4 separate regions of the Homo sapiens genome follow, and regions 1, 3 and 4 are each linked to region 2. The links are contacts of gene promoters, found by promoter capture Hi-C in blood cells and fetal thymus (Javierre and others, 2016). All regions are on one chromosome and are shown on one strand. Each heading gives the region's core, a stretch centred on a gene start or on the middle of the fragment in contact. The rest is flanking DNA. Distances are from core to core; before and after follow the strand shown. Region 1 overlaps U2AF1 (U2 small nuclear RNA auxiliary factor 1). Region 2 holds the start of SIK1 (salt inducible kinase 1). Region 3 overlaps LOC101928369 (a long non-coding RNA gene). Region 4 overlaps LOC107987300 (a long non-coding RNA gene).

What was found. The method cuts DNA at HindIII sites, captures the fragments that hold promoters and counts their contacts. A CHiCAGO score of 5 or more calls a contact.
Region 1: a fragment that was not itself captured here is called in contact with the fragment with the promoter of SIK1 in region 2 in 1 of 17 cell types (total CD8 T cells); the score reaches 5.7 in total CD8 T cells.
Region 3: a fragment that was not itself captured here is called in contact with the fragment with the promoter of SIK1 in region 2 in 2 of 17 cell types (endothelial precursors and M1 macrophages); the score reaches 6.1 in endothelial precursors.
Region 4: a contact is called between a fragment that was not itself captured here and the fragment with the promoter of SIK1 in region 2, in 2 of 17 cell types (endothelial precursors and M0 macrophages). The highest score is 12.4, in endothelial precursors.

The regions. Positions count from the first base shown.
Region 1 is chr21:43,102,554-43,105,555 of GRCh38, reverse strand. It overlaps U2AF1 (U2 small nuclear RNA auxiliary factor 1), which reads left to right. Exons shown (of 8, transcript NM_006758.3): 2 at 1,154-1,241. Among named protein-coding and RNA genes, the nearest start is that of U2AF1, 3.5 kb to the left of the region's middle. The HindIII fragment of the contact is 2,917 bases long and covers 1-2,903 here.
Region 2 is chr21:43,425,881-43,428,863 of GRCh38, reverse strand. It overlaps SIK1 (salt inducible kinase 1), which reads left to right and starts at 1,733. Exons shown (of 14, transcript NM_173354.5): 1 at 1,733-1,854; 2 at 2,672-2,841. The coding sequence starts at 2,686. The HindIII fragment of the contact is 3,848 bases long and covers 1-2,983 here.
Region 3 is chr21:43,126,887-43,130,163 of GRCh38, reverse strand. All of the region lies in intron 3 of LOC101928369 (a long non-coding RNA gene), which reads right to left. Among named protein-coding and RNA genes, the nearest start is that of FRGCA, 13 kb to the left of the region's middle. The HindIII fragment of the contact is 1,089 bases long and covers 1,367-2,455 here.
Region 4 is chr21:43,158,662-43,161,934 of GRCh38, reverse strand. LOC107987300 (a long non-coding RNA gene) reads left to right here. Exons shown (of 3, transcript XR_007067885.1): 2 at 3,207-3,261. Among named protein-coding and RNA genes, the nearest start is that of CRYAA, 8.7 kb to the left of the region's middle. RefSeq lists an enhancer at 115-860. The HindIII fragment of the contact is 4,113 bases long and covers 1-3,273 here.

The DNA.
Region 1 (3,002 bases), core at 196-2,695, 320 kb after region 2:
ATGACTTCCTAAAGATATGCTATTGTCTAATCAAGTTAAATAATCTCAAGACCTGTAAGTTTGCAAATATATATAATCACTTTCCTCTCCTGATAAATTTGGACTTTCCCATCTTTATTGCTACCTGATAATAAATCAGTGGCTAGTCAGTCTTCATGGTCCATTAGATTTCACTGAGGTTGAGGCCCTTCAATCTTAACTCTGGATTGACTGTTTAAAACATAATGGCACTTGGTTAAAAAAAAATTGAATTTTGAACAAAGTCTGTCTGGTAAGATGTCCTAATTCATCAGAGATCGGCTTCCCTCCCTGACATTGCTGGCACACAGGCATGATTGCTGGTTCCATTGGATATGGATCTGGATTGTCAGCGTATTTGAACAGTATTAAGGGAGGGTTTTGCAGTAGAGACAGAAGGTGACGTAAGGTGGTTCCTAAGGTGGGTTCGGTCAGTCCCCTAATAGTTTGTTTTCAGTGTATTGAGACCAGGAGAATTGATTTACTTCAGACCTATTTTTTGAAACTCCCTGTTGGTCTGGTGTCATGCGTTTAGAGAGACTCTGAACTTCGTTTTCTGTTTTCCTTAGATAATGATAGCACTTCATGAGCACCATATGTGAAGCACACATACGTTCTGTCTGACTCTCAGAACAGTGCCACATTGGCATTGTCATCATTTACAGATGACATCTGAGAGCTAGGGTGACTTGCCCAAGCCCAAGCAGCTGGTAGCAGAGTTGGGATCTTAACCCTCACCACACCGGTGTTTTCAAGAGAGAACTTGGTCGTGGAGAACTGGAGAACAGATACTGCCTAAGTTACATTTAGTTTTAGACTAATTTAATACTCCATTTAAGAAACAAACAGAACAGCTGTGCAGTTAGGAAAGTGGAGGGGATTTGAATGAGGAGGAGGCGGGTTAGAGTTAGAACCGTCTTTGCTGAACAAGTAGTGTGTTTGCAGAAAGGGAAGTTGAAGTTACGTTGTCCTAAAATACAGCAAGGAAGAGGAGGTGCTTAATACCACGGAAAAAAGTCTGTGTCATGTTTCTGTGAGGTTAAAAGTAATTTGATAGTGTATGTCATGCTGCTGACATATTCCATGTGTTTGATATCTTCCCAGCAAAATAATCAGCTCTCATTTTCCCTTACAGAGTCAACTGTTCATTTTATTTCAAAATTGGAGCATGTCGTCATGGAGACAGGTGCTCTCGGTTGCACAATAAACCGACGTTTAGCCAGGTTTGTTTGCCTTTTTTTCATGTAAATTATAAAAACTTCATGTTCTTTTCAAAGACAGTTAATTTCTACATATTAAGCAAGTCATTTTTTCTCTCGTAGTTGTATTTTCCATTTGTGTTCATAAGTGTGTTCTTTTATTTAAATAATAGTGAGGCAGGTGATCGACTTCCAGTGGAAGGTCTGAGACCACCACTCCTTGTTTTTATCATTAGAGAAACTTTAAAAATCAGTTTTTGATGTTTGTGTGTTGGCTGTGCCTGATATTTGCTGCCCTGCCATCTTCCCTACCCCCTCTGATAGACATGGGTCCAGAGGGGGTGGCCGTGCCAGCCTTGGGTTAGCCTCCTCCAGGCACCAGTGGACACGGAGTGGGCTTTCTGCTCTTTGCTGTCTCCAGACAGTAGAGGTGATGGAGCCACCTTCCAAGTTAGCGTGATTGTCACCAGGCCCATCATGCTGCTCGAGCTTCTCTGGCTGCGTCCTCACTTTCACATCCCTAGCTGAGGAAACAGCGAGTCGCATCACGTCATGGAAACATGAAAAATTAAGCTGAAAGGTAGAAAATGGGCCGTAAATTGCTCTTAGCGGGTCTGTTTGGTTAATTGAGGAGTGCCTGTTATCTTGGGCTTAGATCCGCTCTGAGTTCAGTTCAATCAAAAGTTGTGAGTTTTGATAGTTTTATTTTTGGTTAGTTGAAGAAAAGGCAAAGGTTGGTACACTATAAAGGATCACTTACGGATTAAAGGGAGAAGGCACCTCTAATCGGAGCAGAAAACTTGTGCCCACGTTGATGAGAACATTTGAAATTTGAAAATCGATGCCCAAGTCTTTCCAGATGGAGGGCTGGGGAACTCCTTCCAACCCACCCTTGAAGTCTAAATGTGCAGCCTCTGAGCTGTTGAGTAGCTATTATGCGTGGTCCCTGGGAGCTGCCAGGCTCTGCCTTTGAGCTCACATCTGTCTGTATACGTTTTCCTGTAAGCATTTAAGAAAATCTACCACTTTGTGTAAGTGAGCTGGGAGAAGGAAACATGGGTTTTTTCCGGTTGAAGCCCATGGACGACCCCACAGCACACAGTGTTTTTAGAAGGGAAGAGGATGATGGCTTTTCCCTCCATTATGCTAATTACCAAGTGGTTAGTATAATAGCAGTCTGTCTTTTGATAGCTCTGAACATGAGTTTCTTTTTACAAATTTCAAAATCTTGGAGAACTAGCTTTACATTTTCTGTGTATTGCAATTGTTTTTTCTTTAATGTTTTGATTTATGAACCGAATCTCCCCTAACTAAACCAGTGGCCATGGATTGTGGTATAACCAAGCATCTTAAGTGACCACCCAGTTCTTTGATTTTGGGGGGTGTCCCAAGTGTTGGGCTGAGAGAAATCAACTGTTCCCTATTCTAAAAGTTTTCTTTAATCTGGCTGGAGGCACTTTCTTTATGTTTTTCTGGATCATAGATTACCTGAGAATGTGAAATGTGAAGTTAATTTAGGCATTCCAGGTCAGTGCTGGGGAGAGCCCATTGGAGCTCGATGGGGTCAGTAGTATGTGTCAGCTTAAGCATCCTAGTTTGATGCGTGGGTTTGTTTTGGTTGGTTTTAGGCAATCCTAGCCACCCTTGGCTTTCCCATTAGACTGCATTGCCTCTTTACGTTAAGCTTCCTTCATTAAATAGCCACTGCCAGAATACCTGAGTGAGACCAACTGAATTTTACTGTTGAATAATTGGGCTCAGTTTAGCTTTTCATCAGGGTTGTCA
Region 2 (2,983 bases), core at 484-2,983:
CCTTGTTCTCTTGCTCAGGCTGGAGTGCAGTGGTGCAATGACAGCTCACTGCAGCCTCAACCTCCCAGGCTCACGCCATCCTCCCACCTCAGGCTCCCAAGTAGCCGGCCCCACAGGCGTGTGCCACCACACCTGGCTATTTTAAAAGTATTTTATAGAGGTGAGGTCTTGCTATGTTAACCAAGCCGGTCTCAAACTCCTGAGCTCAACTGATCCTCCTGCCTCAGCCTCCCAAAGCACTGGGATTACAGGCGGGAGACACGACGTCCAGCCTTGTTTTTGTTTAGTTCTCCTAGGAGCGGATTAACAGGGTGTTGGGACCTCCAAAAGGAAAAAAGGCAGTTGTACACTGTTCAGCTGAAAGGAACTAAAAATATTCCCCCGTATTCTTGGTATATAAACCTGGGACAAAGAAAAACACTCTGAACGATTAAGGAAAACTTTGGGACTCTTCATTTCCTTGAAAGCCTTTGAAAACCAACTGACTCCCAAACAACCCGTGTGTGTGTGTGTGTGTGTGTGTGTGTGTGTGTGTGTGTGGCGATTGGGAAATCTGTGGTCAGACCCTCGGGCGAATGAGGAGAAGCTCATCCTCGTTTCTCCGGGCCCTCCTCCCAGGCGTCCGTCCAGGCAGGAAAGCCTCCCGAGAAGGGTTCCAAGTTTTGTGCCAACTCCCCTGAATTCTCGTTCCCCCTTCTGTGAAGTAGTGTTATTTAACACAAGGAAAACTGACCCTAGGCTCGATCCAGAATCTAACTCCCAAATGGGTCCTCAGGCTTAAAAAATACCTTCGCCCACAGCCTCTGTCTCCCCTGAAGAAAACGTTTTCCGTTCGGATGAGGCATCGGCCACGGGCAAGCAAGTGGTCCCGCGCCCCCGTCCCCTACCCAGGCGGCCGGCCTGGCTCCGTCACCGCCCGCAGCGTCCGCCCGGGGCCCGCGCGGGAAGAGGGTCCCAGCCCCACATGCTGCGGGGGCAGCCCCGGGACGCGCAGACGCCAGCGCCGCTGAGGGCCGGGGCCGGGACCGGCCGCGCGGCGGGGGCTTCCAGAGCGGCCGGTCACGCTTCCTTAGGTTTCAAGTTTCTAACTTGCTGAACATTTCAGATTTTAACAGCAAAAGCGGCTGACGTCCCCGCGGGCAAGCGGCCTCTCGGGGTCTGCAGCGCCCCAGGGCATCCGCGCCGCCAGCCCCACGCGCGAGCCCGCGAGGCCCCCGGGCCCCCGCACGTCCCGAGGCTCTGAGTCTGGACGAACGCAGGCCGCGTGGAGGGGCCGGCGACCCCTGCCCGAGAGCCGTCCCCTCCTGGAGGGAGCGAGCACAAGGCGCCCGCGGGACCCGGCCCGAGTGCCCGAGCGTGGAGGGGCGGGCGCGCCCTCGGCGGTGGGGCCGCCCGCAGTGCCCCCAGCGCCCGGGAGGGGGCGCCCGGCGGAGCGCAGGCGGGCGGGCCTCGGGCGGCGGGCGCCCCTGACGTCACCGGCCCGCGGTCGCCAGGGCAACGGCCTCATCCCGCGCGCGTCAGAGCCGCCAGTCTCTTGGCAACCGCCCGATCTCCCGCTCTCCCTCCGCCCGGCGCTCGGCCGCGCGTCGCTCTGGCGTCAAAGCGACGTCAATGGGCGGCCCCCGCCCGGGCGGCGGGGGCGGGGCAGGGGGCGGGGACTACGGGGGGCGGGCCGGGGCGGGCCGGGGCGGGGCCGGGCGCCGCGTGCGGCGGAGCGCGGCGGCTCCGGGCTGACATGCGGCGCGGCCCCGGAGGCAGCAGCAGCGGCGGCGGCAGCCGGAGCAGTAGGCACCCGAGCAGCGCCAGCGGCCGAGCGGGCGGCTTCCTGGCCTGGGCGCTCCGGTGGCGGCGGAGGTGAGGCGGCGGCAGCGGCGGCAGCGGCGGCAGCGGCGGGCTCCGGGCGGGCGGAGGTGGCCGCCGTGGGGGCTCCGCGCGGGCGCCGGGCCGGGGCTCGGGGTTGCAGCCACCGCGCAGGGTCCCTGGCCTTGCGCGCGCGGGGTTCGCGGGCGGGGTTGGCGGCCTGGCCGCCCTCGGGCTCCCCTTTGTTGGGGGGCCGGGGTAGGAGTGAGTCCGCGGGGCTCAGGGGCTGGGGAGCCGGGGGTCAGGTTGGAGCCGACCGCGGGCGGAGATACCGGGTGTGGGGGGCGGGTCCGCGATCCCCGAGGTGCCTGGGATGTCGGGGGTGGGGACCGGACGGATCGCGGGCGGCGGGGGCAGGGTGTGGGAGCGGGGCAGGGGACGGTCCTGGGATCCGGATCGAGCCGACCTCGGGTGGCAGGGCCAGGTGTGGGAGCGGGTCCGCGCCCAGAGGTGCTAAAGGGGTCGAGGGTGGGGACGGAACCGACAGCGGGCGGCGGGAGGCGAGTGTGGAATCCCGGCTCAGGGGGTCCCGGGATCGGGACGGAACCGGACTCGGGCGGCAGGGGCCTCTATGAGAGCGGGTCCGTGCGCCCCGCGGGGCTCAAGAGGGTCGGGGGTCCGGGTGGAGCGGGCGGCGGGGGCGGGTCCACACCTCCCACGGGGCTGGAGGGGCCCGTGGATAGAGTGGGGGCGACAGGCGTGGGAGCAGGTCCCTGCGTCCCGTGGGGACTGGGGGCTCCGCGGGCACGGATGGAGCCGACCGCGGGCGGCGGGGGCGCTGGTGGGCTCTGAGCTCTGTGCGGCCCCGCAGGTGCGCGCGGAGCCATGGTTATCATGTCGGAGTTCAGCGCGGACCCCGCGGGCCAGGGTCAGGGCCAGCAGAAGCCCCTCCGGGTGGGTTTTTACGACATCGAGCGGACCCTGGGCAAAGGCAACTTCGCGGTGGTGAAGCTGGCGCGGCATCGAGTCACCAAAACGCAGGTGCGTGGGGGCGGTGGGACCCAGCCGGCGGGGCCTCCCCACTGGACCCGGGGCGACCCGACCTTTGGCGGGTGGACCCCATGCAGATTCACTGCTCCAGGCTTGATTGTCGTGGTGGGTAAATAGTAACCGTTTTTAGTTC
Region 3 (3,277 bases), core at 662-3,161, 300 kb after region 2:
AACCATCCTGCCTGTCTAGAAAGGAGCACAGGTGAAGCTGCCTGACTCATCAGCTACACAAACTTGTTCTGACTTAGGTTTTGTTGTTTTTTGGCTTTCAGACAGGGTCTCTCTCTGTCACCCAGGCTGAAGTGCAGTGGCACCATCTTGGCTCACTGCAGCCTCAACCTCCCTGGGCTCAGTGATCCTCCTACCTCAGCCTCCAGAGTAGCTGGGACTACAGGCATGCACCACCATGCTTGGCTAATTTCTGTATTTTTTGCAGAGATGGGGTTTTGCCACGTTGGCCAGACTGGTCTCAAATTCCTGGGCTCAAGCAATCCACTTGCCTTGGACTCCCAAAGTGCCGGGATCGCAGGCGTGAGCCACCGCGCCTGGTTGAGACTAAGGTTTTCAGAGGATACAAATCCATCAATGTAATTTTCAGCTGTTTCCTGATCAGGAAAGAAGCCTTTCCACCACAGCTATGCAGATTGTTTTACACCATGACACTTCTTGAATATTCATGCTCACCTTTAAAGTTCAGTTCTTCCTGCTGTATTCCAGCTTCTTTCATAACCAACAAACCACTCCTTGGCATACAGTGACTACTTCATTGCCAATTCCGTTCCATCCATTCCTGGTCAAGATCTCTCTCCCTACACCACACCCCACTGACCCTGTGTTTTCCATATTTCAATGGCTCTTGGTAATCACAATTATTATAAATTTTCAACTGTTTGTCTTTTTTTTAATAGAGAGGGGATCTTGCTATGTTGGCCAGGTTGGTCTTGAACTCTTGACCTCAAGCAATCCTCCCACCTCAGCCTCCCAAAGTGCTAGGATTATAAGCATGAGCCACCACGCACAGCCCAACTGCTTGTCTTTTGATGGCTTCCCAACATCACTGATGCTTTCTGCACTATTGACAAAGAGAGTGTTTCCATGTGTCCTTCCCACAGTGAGCACTGGGTACATGCTACCCTTTTTGTATGAATTCACAGTGCAATTAAACCCATGGTCACAAAAAGACAAATGCATTTTAAAAATTAAAACATATACATTGTCAGCAACCAGCAGAGGTGCCTGTAACAGAGGGAGTGTTGGGATGCTGCCAACACCTTGGGTCAGGTCAGCTTTTGCAAATTTTGGCACCAAGTTTACAGAAAAAAAAAAAAAGTCCTTTTCATTTTCACAGCTTTTTGCTTTTTGGAATGCTGACAAGGGCCTGTGGGTCTGTTCCATCATGGAATCAGGATGAAAAGACAGAATTGGAGTCCTCAAAGCAACCCCAGTCTAGTAGGACAGAGATGTCAACACCGCATTAGAGCATCATTCAACAAGGGCAGTTTCTGATGCCTCATGGGCACCTACTAAGTGCCAAGCTTCGTCCACTCCTCAAAGGCAGGTTGGCTGATCCTATTAGCCAATGGAAACCCTGAGTCTAGAGAACTTCATAATGCAGGTCATGCAGCAGGAAGTGGCAAAGCAGGATAGCAGATCCAGGTCTGTTCAACCTTTGCAGGTAAGGAGGGGAAGCTGTTGAGAACCCAAAATGCATTGCACATCTGGGAGGGGGATGACTCCAAGGAGGCCTCAAGGGCCAAACTGGAATGCTGGGAAGGAGGGAGTGGGCATGGGTCCTGGAAGAACACACTGTGCACAGGCAGGAGGCTCCCACGACCAAGAGCTGAAAGTTGCCCGGCACATTCCAGGGACTGGGAGCCATGGAGGGTTCCCAGTAAGAAACAGCAGGATCGAATCTGTATTTCCCACAGAGCCCTCTGGCAGAAGGACAAATGGTCACCTAGAAAAGGAGGAAACAGCATAGATACTGCTGTAGTGATCCAGGTACACTCAGGAATGGCCAAGAGGAGGAAAAGGAGCAGACATGGTTGAGAGAAGCCAAGGAATTAGAATGGATGTGAATCAGACAACTTAGGGCAACCCAGGTGGGCTCAGGCTATAGATGACTGGCATTTACTAAATGCTTGAACAGAACGTCAAGAGATGGGAGGAGAAGGATAAAATGAAGTCAGCTGGAGATATGTTGAGCTGAGGTGCCTGGCACACTTCTAAGTGGAGATCTGTCTTCCGAATTTGTGTCTGTGCACCTGCCACAGTATCTGACACATCAGACATGCCCCCCAAAATATAAGATGGATGGACGGACAGATGGATGGATGGATAGATGGATGAATGACTCAGTGGGATGGATAGATGGATGGATGAATGGATGAATAAATGGGTGGGTGAAAGGACAGATGGATGGATGGATGGATGTCTGGGTGAGTGGATGGATGGATGGATGGATGGACGGACTAACAGACAAATGGGTGGATGGCTAGATGAGCGGATTGGTGGGTGAAAGGACAGACATATGAATGAACAGATGAAGGGAGGAATGAATTCTCGACTTTAAATAATGAGATTTAGAAAATATGATTAAGTACAAAGTTTATTCAAGCCCAAAGCTTAAGGATGGCCACCTGGGAGCCTAGATTCAAGTTCCCCTGAATAGATGCTCCAATTAGCAGCAGTGGGTTCTTTTTTTTTTTTTTTTTTTGAGACAGGGTCTCACTCTGTCACCCAGTCTGGAGTGCAGTGGTGTGATCACAGCTTACTGCAGCCTCAACCTCCCAGATTCAAGCAATCCTCTCTCCTCAGCCTGCCTCAGTAGCTGGGACCACAGGCACATGCCCTTATGCTTGGATAATTTTTTAAAATTTTTTATAAAGACAGGCTCTCACTATGTTGTCTCAAACAAAAACAAAACAAAAAGCCCCACTCTCCTGTCTCTCTGGGCCTGATAACTTTGGCACACCTCACATAGCTCAGACTGCTCTGTGCTATTTTTTTCCCCATTTCTCCCCTTTTCATCAAGACCTTTCAAAGAAGGCCTCATAGAAAAATGCAAATTGTTTTGGCTCCCTTTATGTTCAGGAGCTTAGTCCTGAGTTGCTAGGAAGGTTAATTATCAGATGGCCTTGTCCCATGTAGGGGAGGGGAGATGTATTAAGCCATTCTTGCATTGCTATAGAGAAATAACCAGCTGGCTGCACTGGCTCGCGCCTGTAATCACAACACTTTGGGAGGCCGAGGTGGGCAGATGGCTTGAGCCCAGGAGTTTGAGACCAGCCTGGGCAGCATGACAAAACCTCACCTTTACTAAAAATTCAAAAAAAATTAGCCAGGCATGGTGGTACATGCCTGTAGTCTCAGTCACTCGGGAGGCTGAGGTGGGAGAATCACCTGAGCCTCGGGAGGAGAAGGCTGCCGTGAGCCATGATCATGCCAC
Region 4 (3,273 bases), core at 658-3,157, 270 kb after region 2:
TGGAGAGAGAGGTCTGCCCAGTAGGCCCCAAGGACCCCTCCGGGAAGAGGCTGGCCTCTCCAGGCAGCCTGGCACGGAAGTCAAGGCTACGAGTCAAGTGTCTGACTCCCAGGCCAGGGCTGGGAAGGGCAAGAACAAGGCTGGTCTTGTAGCCTGCCACCTGGGGAGGGCATGGGGGTAGGCAAACAGCTCAGCCCCGCAGGCACACCGGGGTCTGTGCAAACATGATCACCCTGGGCACAGGCAGCCCTTCCTCACTGGATGTCCCTGGGCACGGGTGGCCCTTCCTCACTGGACATCTTTAAGCATGGGCAGCCCTTCCTCATTGGATGTCTCTTGGTTCTCCCGGCCTCCTGGAGAGTAACCGTCACTCCTGCCTGTGCCCTGGACCGAGACCCTGGCGAGAGTGACCAGCCCAGGGCAGACCCAGCCAGAGCACCCAGTGGGCCCCAAAGGACCCGCCTTGGGTTAAGGGGGTGCGGGAGGGGGTCACCACAGAGCCAGCAGCTTCCAGAGAAGGCTGAGGGTGGGGACCTGGGCATAGCCCAAGGTGCCAGTGCCCACCTGGGGTCTTGGTGGCCGCAGGGAGAATGTGGGCCAGGTGCCGCCGCACAGCTCCATCCGGCCTGACCCTCAGTCCCAGCCCCACCCTGGGCCACTGCTGCTGGGTCCCCCCTCACAGATGCAGAGACCGCACAGGCGGCAGAGTCAGATGGACGCAGCTTCCACACGGGCCCCACCTAGGCCATCTGCGCCCCAGCAAGGGAGACGCCAGCCCAGCATGCCTGGCTCAGCGCAGTGCCACCACAGGCCCGACCCTCACCCCCCCGCCCCGGGGAAGAAAAAGTAAGAGTTTCACAGAGATCAGAGAAAGAAAAGGCACGCCTCCCACAGCTGAGCAAGGCCATGGGGCAGGGCTGGCCCCTGTGCCCACCAGCCCTCGCAGGGGCCGTCCCACCTGGGAGAGGCCTCAAGGCCATTGGCTGCCTCGACGGGAACTGCAGCCGAGTGGGGCCTGCAGCCGGGGCCTCGGGCCTGTCGCAGGTGTGGAGCCCGGCCGCCTGAGGACGTTCTGCAGGGTGGGCAGCGCTGGGGACGGCGCAGGGGGACCATCCCCTCCGGCCCAGGGGCTGGGCAGGACCCAGTGTGGGCTGCATGGGGCTCCTGAGGGTGGAGAAGGGGTGGGAGGCCAAGGGAACAGAGGGACAGATGTGCGGGATCTGGGGTGCGAGGGCAGGGCTCCAACTGGTCTGGGAGCGTGTGTGGGGGTGTGGTGTATATTTGATATGTGTGGTGTGTGGGGGGTGTGTGTTGGATATGTGGTGTGTGATGTGTGTGTGGTGTGTGGGGTTTCTGTGACGTGTGTGGTGTGTGTGTGGTATACGTGTGGTGTGTGGGGTTTCTGTGATGGGTGTGGTGTGTGTGGTGTGTCTGTGACGTGTGTGGTGTGTGTGTGTGGTATATGTGTGGTGTGTGGGGTTTCTGTGACGTGTGTGTGATGTGTGTGTGGTGTGTGGTGTACAATGTACCGTGTATAGTGTGTGTGGTGTGTGTGTGTGTGATGTGTCTGGTATGTGCTGTGTGTGTTGTATATGTGATGTGTGGGGTGTGTGTGTGGTGTGTGTTGTATATGTGATGTGTGTGGTATATGTGGTGTGTGATGTGAGTGGTGTGTGTGTGGTGTTTATGTGATGTGTGGGGTGTGTGGAATGTGGGGTGTGTGGTATATGTGTGGTGTGTGATGTTTCTGTGGTGCGTGTGGTGTGCGATGTGTGTGATGTGTGTGTGATGTGTGTGATGTGTGTGTGGTGTGTGTGTGGTGTATGATGTGTGTGCAGTGTGGAGTATCTGTGGTGTGTGTCTGTGTGGTGTGTGTGATGTGTATGTTGTGTATCTGGTGTGTGTGTGGTATATCTGTGGTGTGTGTCTGTGGTGTGTGTGGTGTGTGTTGTATAGGTGGTGTGGGGTGTGTATGTGTGGTACATCTATAGTGTATGGTGTGTGTGTGGTGTGTGTGGTGTGTGTTGTATAGGTGGTGGGGTGTGTGTGTGGTACATCTATAGTGTATGGTGTGTGTGTGATGTGTGTGGTGTGTGTCCGTGGTGTGTATGCGTGGGGGTGTGTAAGCCACTGTCTCGGAGATCATTTTTCTCAAATATCTCTACAGATCGAGCCCTGTCGGGAGGTTTTTCCCGGCCTCTGCGATGGCTCCTCCGTGGCTCCCCGGCATTGTTTCCGCGGCCCAGCTTAAGCCTGTCCTCAGCGATTTGCCGCCCCACTGCACCCGAGCTCAATGCCAGCCCCTCACACAAAGGCCACATTCACTTCATCTACAGGATTCCCGTAACGCCAGCAGTCTGCCCCACAAAGGCTGGCGCTGCAATTTTCCACTCCAGGGCCCCGCGGGGCTCACACACAAATCCGCCTGTGTAGGGCGGATGGGGCATTGTTGTGGCTCAGCGGGGAATGTGCCTGAGCTAAGCCCTCGCCCTGCTTCTCCTCGAGGTCAGCAGGTTACACAGGATGGTCCCCTGCAGACCCCCGAGCTGCCCTCAGAGTGCAACGTGGGGCCGGTCATGTCCCGCCAGCCCTTTCCAGAACAAAGCCAGCAGGGAGAGTGTGCCATAGACCCCCGAGGCCCTCCGAGGCTGGAGTTAAGTTGGGGAGAGGATCCTCTTTCGGGGGTTTAGAGATAATTCTGTCCCACAGCACACACTGGGCGCTCACCACTGCCAGGACGTGCAGGTCATGGGTGACGGGGACAGAGCCAGTGACGTCCCGCCCTCCCCCTGCGGGCCAGCACCTGGTGCGCCCATCACGGGGTATTACTTTTACGGTGGCGGCAAATGCTACTTCATTGAGTTTATTTTTATCATGAAAATTTTTACACAGTCTCAAAAGTAGAGACCATGGAACAATGAGCCCTTCACATACTCCTCAGCCAGATCCAACAATTAGGAGGATTTTGCCCTGCTTCCCGCTTCTCTTGGTTTTTTTCTTTACTGGAGTATTTTAAAGCAAAGCACAGACGCCACGTCATTTCACCCCCGCGCACTTCAGGTACCTCTCCTACAAATCGAACATTTCTTTCTATAAGCGCAAATTCCCTCTCACGTTTGACAGGATTCCTAACAATTTCTCGATGTCATCTAAAACCTAGTCCCTCATCAGATAACCCTGATTGTCTCAAATATGTTCTTTTACAGTTGATGTGTTTGCATCATGACCTAAAAAGAATCTGCTCACTGCTCTGGTTGTTACGTAGGTATCATT